Linked DNA regions of Homo sapiens: region 2 is linked to region 1. The links are contacts of gene promoters, found by promoter capture Hi-C in human tissues and cell types (Jung and others, 2019). All regions are on one chromosome and are shown on one strand. Each heading gives the region's core, a stretch centred on a gene start or on the middle of the fragment in contact. The rest is flanking DNA. Distances are from core to core; before and after follow the strand shown.

Region 1 (2,935 bases), core at 182-2,681:
GGGGCGCGCCCCGAGGCGCAGACCCTCTTTGGCGACTCCACACAATATGCAGCCCGCCTGCAAGCAGCCGCTGCAGCCGAGGGGCGCGCCTGGCTGATGTGTGGTTGAATGGAGAGCGGCCCAACCCTCCTCCTTCCTCCTCTTCTTCTCCCCGCCCTGACACCCGGGCCTCAAACTTCAACCAAAGCCCGTGCCCTTTTCAATTTACCCCCCTCGATCAAAATGAGCCATTCTTGTCTGTCCTCCGCGGCGGCCCATTGTCTGGCGTGATAGGTTTGCAGATTTGACAGCTGGGCGCACGCAGATTTGATTCAAACTCGGTCTCCCCGAGAGATGAACTTGGACATCAGCAAAGATCCCGAGCACTGCCGGCTGGCTCCTAGACCGGTCTCCCGACCCAGTGTAGACTTCGGTGCCCCGGGCGCCCCCCGGCGTGCGGGAAGGGGAGCGTGTGTCAGGCGTGGGGGGCGGGGGGTGAGCAGCACGACTGGGAACCAGCGGTCCCAGGGGTTGGGGCGAAGGGCTGTGTACATGTTAGGCTTTTTTTGTTGTTGTTAATTTACTCTCGAAACAGCCAAAATGGAGGTCAGCTTATAAATTTTCTAAAGCCAGGTCTGGCCGGGTTTAAATGCAGTGGGCTGGGGGCTCCGCTTTTGTCTCCTTGTCGGAGCTCCAGGAGAGAGGTAGAGACTGCGTGTGCATGTGTGCGTGTGAGTGTGAGTGTGCACGCGCTGGCGTGGACGAACGGATGGGCGCATCCCAGGATCGCCGCTCCAGCGTCCTGGGTCTGAGTGTGTCTTGAAAGCACCAAGTCTTGAATCACAGCCACTAGTGACGTGGGGGAAAACTTTGTGTTCCGAAGAAGGGTCTGGCTCGATTGCCCTAAGAAGAAAGAGCCCTTGTGCCCGTGTATGTGTGTGTGTGTGTCTGTGTGTGTGTGTGAGAGAGAGAGAGAGAGAGAGAGACAGAGAGAGAGAGAGAGAGAGAGAGTGTGTGTGTCTGGCAGCACCCGCGGCCGGCTGCAGAACACTGCGTGTCCTGTGCGCGAGTACGGGTCCGGCCGCGGGTCCCACCGCAAGCGGGCGTGTGCAGCTGCGGCTGCCTGGCGGGCGAGCTTAGGAGGGAGCTGGAGCTGCGGAGCGGCGGGAACAGGAGCAGGCCGAGGGTCCTCTGGCCAGAAGAAATCTGGCCTCGGAACACGCCATTCTCCGCGCCGCTTCCAATAACCACTAACATCCCTAACGAGCATCCGAGCCGAGGGCTCTGCTCGGAAATCGTCCTGGCCCAACTCGGCCCTTCGAGCTCTCGAAGATTACCGCATCTATTTTTTTTTCTTTTTTTTCTTTTCCTAGCGCAGATAAAGTGAGCCCGGAAAGGGAAGGAGGGGGCGGGGACACCATTGCCCTGAAAGAATAAATAAGTAAATAAACAAACTGGCTCCTCGCCGCAGCTGGACGCGGTCGGTTGAGTCCAGGTTGGTGGCATTTGGAGTTTTTTTCGTTCTGTTTGGGAACCCATTGCCGCTTCCCGTCCCTCTTCCCCACTCCTTCTTCCCCCCTCCTCCGGCCACCCCTTTCTTTTTGCTGGCGTCTCCCAACTTTAGGGCCCGGGGGGCGCTCGTGGCGCCGGGCTGCACCTGCCGGGGCACGCCGGGACTGCGGGCCGGCGCGCTCGCCCTGGGCTGGGGTGCGGAAGCGCCCGAGTCCTGGGCACCGGGCGAGAGTGTGAGAGGAGCGGACGCCCAGGAGGGAGCCGAGGACGCGCGGCGGGTAGGGGGTAGGGGCGCAGGAACCGGGTTTCAGCCCCAGTCGGGACATCGGTTCCCCCTGGCTTGGCGGCCTCTGGAGGGAGACGAGTCCCGGGGAGAAGGAGGGCGGCGACTGGGGCTAGGGATTGGCGATCGGAGTGGGGAGGGCCGGCGGCTGAGCGAGCTCGCTGGCTGACGCGAGGAGGGGGAGGCCAACTTCCCGGGAGAAGGGGCTCTTTCGGCGCCAGGGCTGGCTAGGGAGCTGCCGCCGCCGCCACCGAGGGCTCGGACTCCAGGCAGCTGCAGGCTCCGCTCGCGACGCTCGGAAAGTACCGTTTATTTATTTATTTGCTTGCGTTCAGCGTCTCGGGTTGAACCCAACAGACACCCCCTTGGACTTTAGGAACCCTCTTCAGACCTCTCCAGCCCTCACCTCCATCCCCGTGTCAGCGGCCCCTGGAAAACACGCACATGCACCCCGACCTGGGTGGGGGTGGGTCCTCACCCCGGTGTTGGAAATTCCCCAAAGGCGGGAACGGGGGAGGGGAGAGGGTTCTGTGGGGGGAGTCTCCGGCGCTCTCCGCTCTCATCTCAAAGCGCGCCCTCCCTTCCAGGTTGGGTCGGACCTGAACCCCTAAAAGCGGAACCGCCTCCCGCCCTCGCCATCCCGGAGCTGAGTCGCCGGCGGCGGTGGCTGCTGCCAGACCCGGAGTTTCCTCTTTCACTGGATGGAGCTGAACTTTGGGCGGCCAGAGCAGCACAGCTGTCCGGGGATCGCTGCACGCTGAGCTCCCTCGGCAAGACCCAGCGGCGGCTCGGGATTTTTTTGGGGGGGCGGGGACCAGCCCCGCGCCGGCACCATGTTCCTGGCGACCCTGTACTTCGCGCTGCCGCTCTTGGGTAAGTCGAGGCCCGCCGCGGGCTTTCTTACCCTCTGAGTCTTTCCTAGGGTCGCTTGCAGCAGCCCACCCCGCCCTCCGCACCAAAATTGGGGCGCGGGTGTGGTGGATGTGGAAGGAAGAAGTGTCTTTTTGGGGAATGGGATCGCGAATCCCCGGGTTAGGGAGGCGGTGGCGGCGCGGCGCTGCCTGAAGCTTTTCGGGCTTGGTTTTGATTTCCTGTGGTTTTTAATGACCCAACTTGGCGGGGGACTAAGAAGCCCTCCAGCCCAGGGCCCTGCACCCCCAG
Region 2 (2,729 bases), core at 222-2,721, 550 kb after region 1:
AGCAATAGTATCTTTAAGTCATAAGGTTGAGACTAAAGAGATAACACACTTGGGCTGTTCCACACAGAGGCTGGCACATTGTGAGCACTCAATAACTGCTAATTGGTACAATTATAATGTTAAATTTCAAGCACTATTTTTGTCTCAGAAGACGGCACACTAATTACCACAGGCCCATTTTCTTCAGCAACAGTGACACATTTTGCTCTACTAGTCTCCCTTTTAACAAATGTTTTGCAAATTTATGAGACAGTTGGAAACTGTCATTATTGTGGTAAAATGAATTTAGATTTGGAACTGCCTTCCACCATTTGTGACTAAGAATGATAAAAACTCATCCTGAAAATTAGGAAAAACTGTATCGTATTTTCTTAAGAAAATTTGAAAATTAATAGATTTTCCAGGATTGTGTTTTATATAAAATGAAGCTTAACATTTTGTATACCCATAAGAAGCCATATAGCAGATGTGTCTGTTTTATAACTAATCTGCTATTGCCAATTATTCAGCAGAACAATAAAGCCAAAAGAACAAATTGATCATAATACAATAGATTATAATCATACTGCCATAAACATTGTTGTGAAGAAAATTTAAAAATTAAAGAGATGTTACTATCTTATTTGTTGTACATAATAACTGTTTTGCTATTCAAAATCTCTTATAAAACAAACCATGGAATTAAAAATGATATGAAAATCAGGCCAGGCTCAGCGGCTCACGCCTGTAAGCACTTTGGGAGGCCGAGGCAGGTGGATCACCTGAGGTCAGGAGTTCAAGACCAGCCTGACCAACATGGTGAAATCCTGTCTCTGCTAAAAAATAAAAATAAAAATAAATTAGCCAGGCATGGTGGCACATGCCTGTAATCCCAGCTACTCAGGAGGCTGAGACACGAGAATCACTTGAACCCGGGAGGTGGAGGTTGCAGTGAGCTGAGATTGCGTCATTGCACTCCAGCCTGGGTAACAAGAGCGAAACTCCGTCTCAAAAATAAATAAATAAATAAATAAATAAATACAAAAGAAAAGAATATCTACGCTTAAATTTGACAACCAGGTAGAGTCAGTGATTCTATCAAATATGAATACAGATAATTCTTCAACTTAATACTATTACTTCAAATACGGTATCATTCCCCAAACTTGATACTAGCTACCTTTCCAAACACCACAAGGCATACAACTCTTTGAATGACTTTAGGATAATACTCCTTAAAAATACACATACATAAAAAACAAAGCAGTGACTAACTCTGCCTGCAATTGTCTTCATACCTCCTACTACATGACTCTTTTGCATAGGTTCCCTATCTATTCTCTCCTCCACCTTCAAATGTCCTTCTACCTCACCTCAACTTTGAAATGATCACCTCTTCTATGAATTATTTGTGATATTAATATGGCACCATCTCTTTATGTCTCCATGCTTTTCTGGGATCTTCTTTAAGGCAAAAGCCTATTTTTGTTTTTCATTCCCCACAATACTTAGTTGATAGTCAACAGTGTTTTATGAATGAACAATGAATGAGTGAATAAAATATAGTATAAGAATCTGTTTCATCCAAATGTGGGTAAAGGCAAGTTATGATAAAACTGACTCTAATTATGCATAAACTTTTAAAACTCTTATATGTCCTTTGATGTTCTAGAATTTATGTCTTCTCCTTGAAAGTAGGTAGACATTTATTTTTTTAGAATGGGGATGTTTTGTGGACCTGTCTTGCAAATCAATATCAGATTTCATATTGTTCCTCATCATCTAGCTTATGGCAATACTGCAAAGATCATAGAAAAAAACTGCCATAAAGTCATCACAATGCATTAATATTTCTAACAGCAATTATATTCAAAACAATTTGGAAAGGTATAAAAAGAGCACTCAAAATGATTTTGTCATTAGTTTTGAGCTACAAACTAAAATAAAGCCTCTGAAGAAAAGATTATGCAACAATTCATGAAATAAGAGGCTTTCTGTTATTAACACAAACATACTTAGCATACAGTAATACAAGTAAAAAATCATTTTTTGTTCTTTTGATGTTAGGATGGTGTAAAGAAGAGAAGTGGCAAGAACTTTTAGTATCATTAAATTAGGAAAGCATGGTTTTCTACCATTTTATATAACTAAATCTTCAAGGCACAAGGTTCAAATTCTTGTTCAGAAAAATATTGGAAATCTTCTGCTTTCAGTCTTCCAGTGTGAGGTTAATTTTCCTAGATAGTGATGTTAGTCATTATGGGAGTGGTTTGGAAAAACATCTTTATTCAGGTTACAGTTGTTATTTTTTTTTCTAGGCTTTTATAATCTTTGACCTGCCGGCAATATGCTGTGTTTGACATAATGTGTTAACTTAAAAATAAAAAAAAAATTCTACCTGTCTAACACTGACAAGTATTCACTGAGTTGGCTGATAATATTCATTTCCAATGATTTTTGAAATTTCTTTGTCAAATGGTATTTTTGCAATATTTGTATTAACTTGCAAAGTAAACTTGAGTGACTGTCCAGAAGGCCTTTAATAATGCGAGATTCCATAAAACCTTAAGATTAGTTATTTTTTCTTCATTATTCAAAAGCAAAATATTGTCAAATAGCCACAGCAGATTTTCCAGGTAGGTTGTTCAGTTATTTGGGGTTGCTATTTGGGCAGTAATGTGCCAAAACCTAAACCTACCTTTCACTGTCATCAGGTCTGCTACCAGACAGAGGAAAGACAAAGGAAAAAC

The links. The method cuts DNA at HindIII sites, captures the fragments that hold promoters and counts their contacts. A contact is called where the count stands out against the background at its distance.
Region 2: a fragment that was not itself captured here is called in contact with the fragment with the promoter of GFRA1 in region 1 in 4 of the 25 tissues and cell types used here (aorta, hippocampus, mesenchymal stem cells and 1 more).

Annotation. Positions count from the first base shown.
Region 1 is chr10:116,271,702-116,274,636 of GRCh38, reverse strand. GFRA1 (GDNF family receptor alpha 1) reads left to right here and starts at 1,431. Exons shown (of 11, transcript NM_005264.8): 1 at 1,431-1,474; 2 at 2,362-2,647. The coding sequence starts at 2,608. It overlaps LOC107984273 (a long non-coding RNA gene), which reads right to left and starts at 628. Exons shown (of 2, transcript XR_001747598.2): 1 at 1-628. RefSeq lists a silencer at 926-1,220 and an enhancer at 429-1,266. The HindIII fragment of the contact is 12,805 bases long and covers 1-2,935 here.
Region 2 is chr10:115,721,826-115,724,554 of GRCh38, reverse strand. All of the region lies in intron 26 of ATRNL1 (attractin like 1), which reads right to left. Among named protein-coding and RNA genes, the nearest start is that of SNORD158, 470 kb to the left of the region's middle. The HindIII fragment of the contact is 5,017 bases long and covers 1-2,729 here.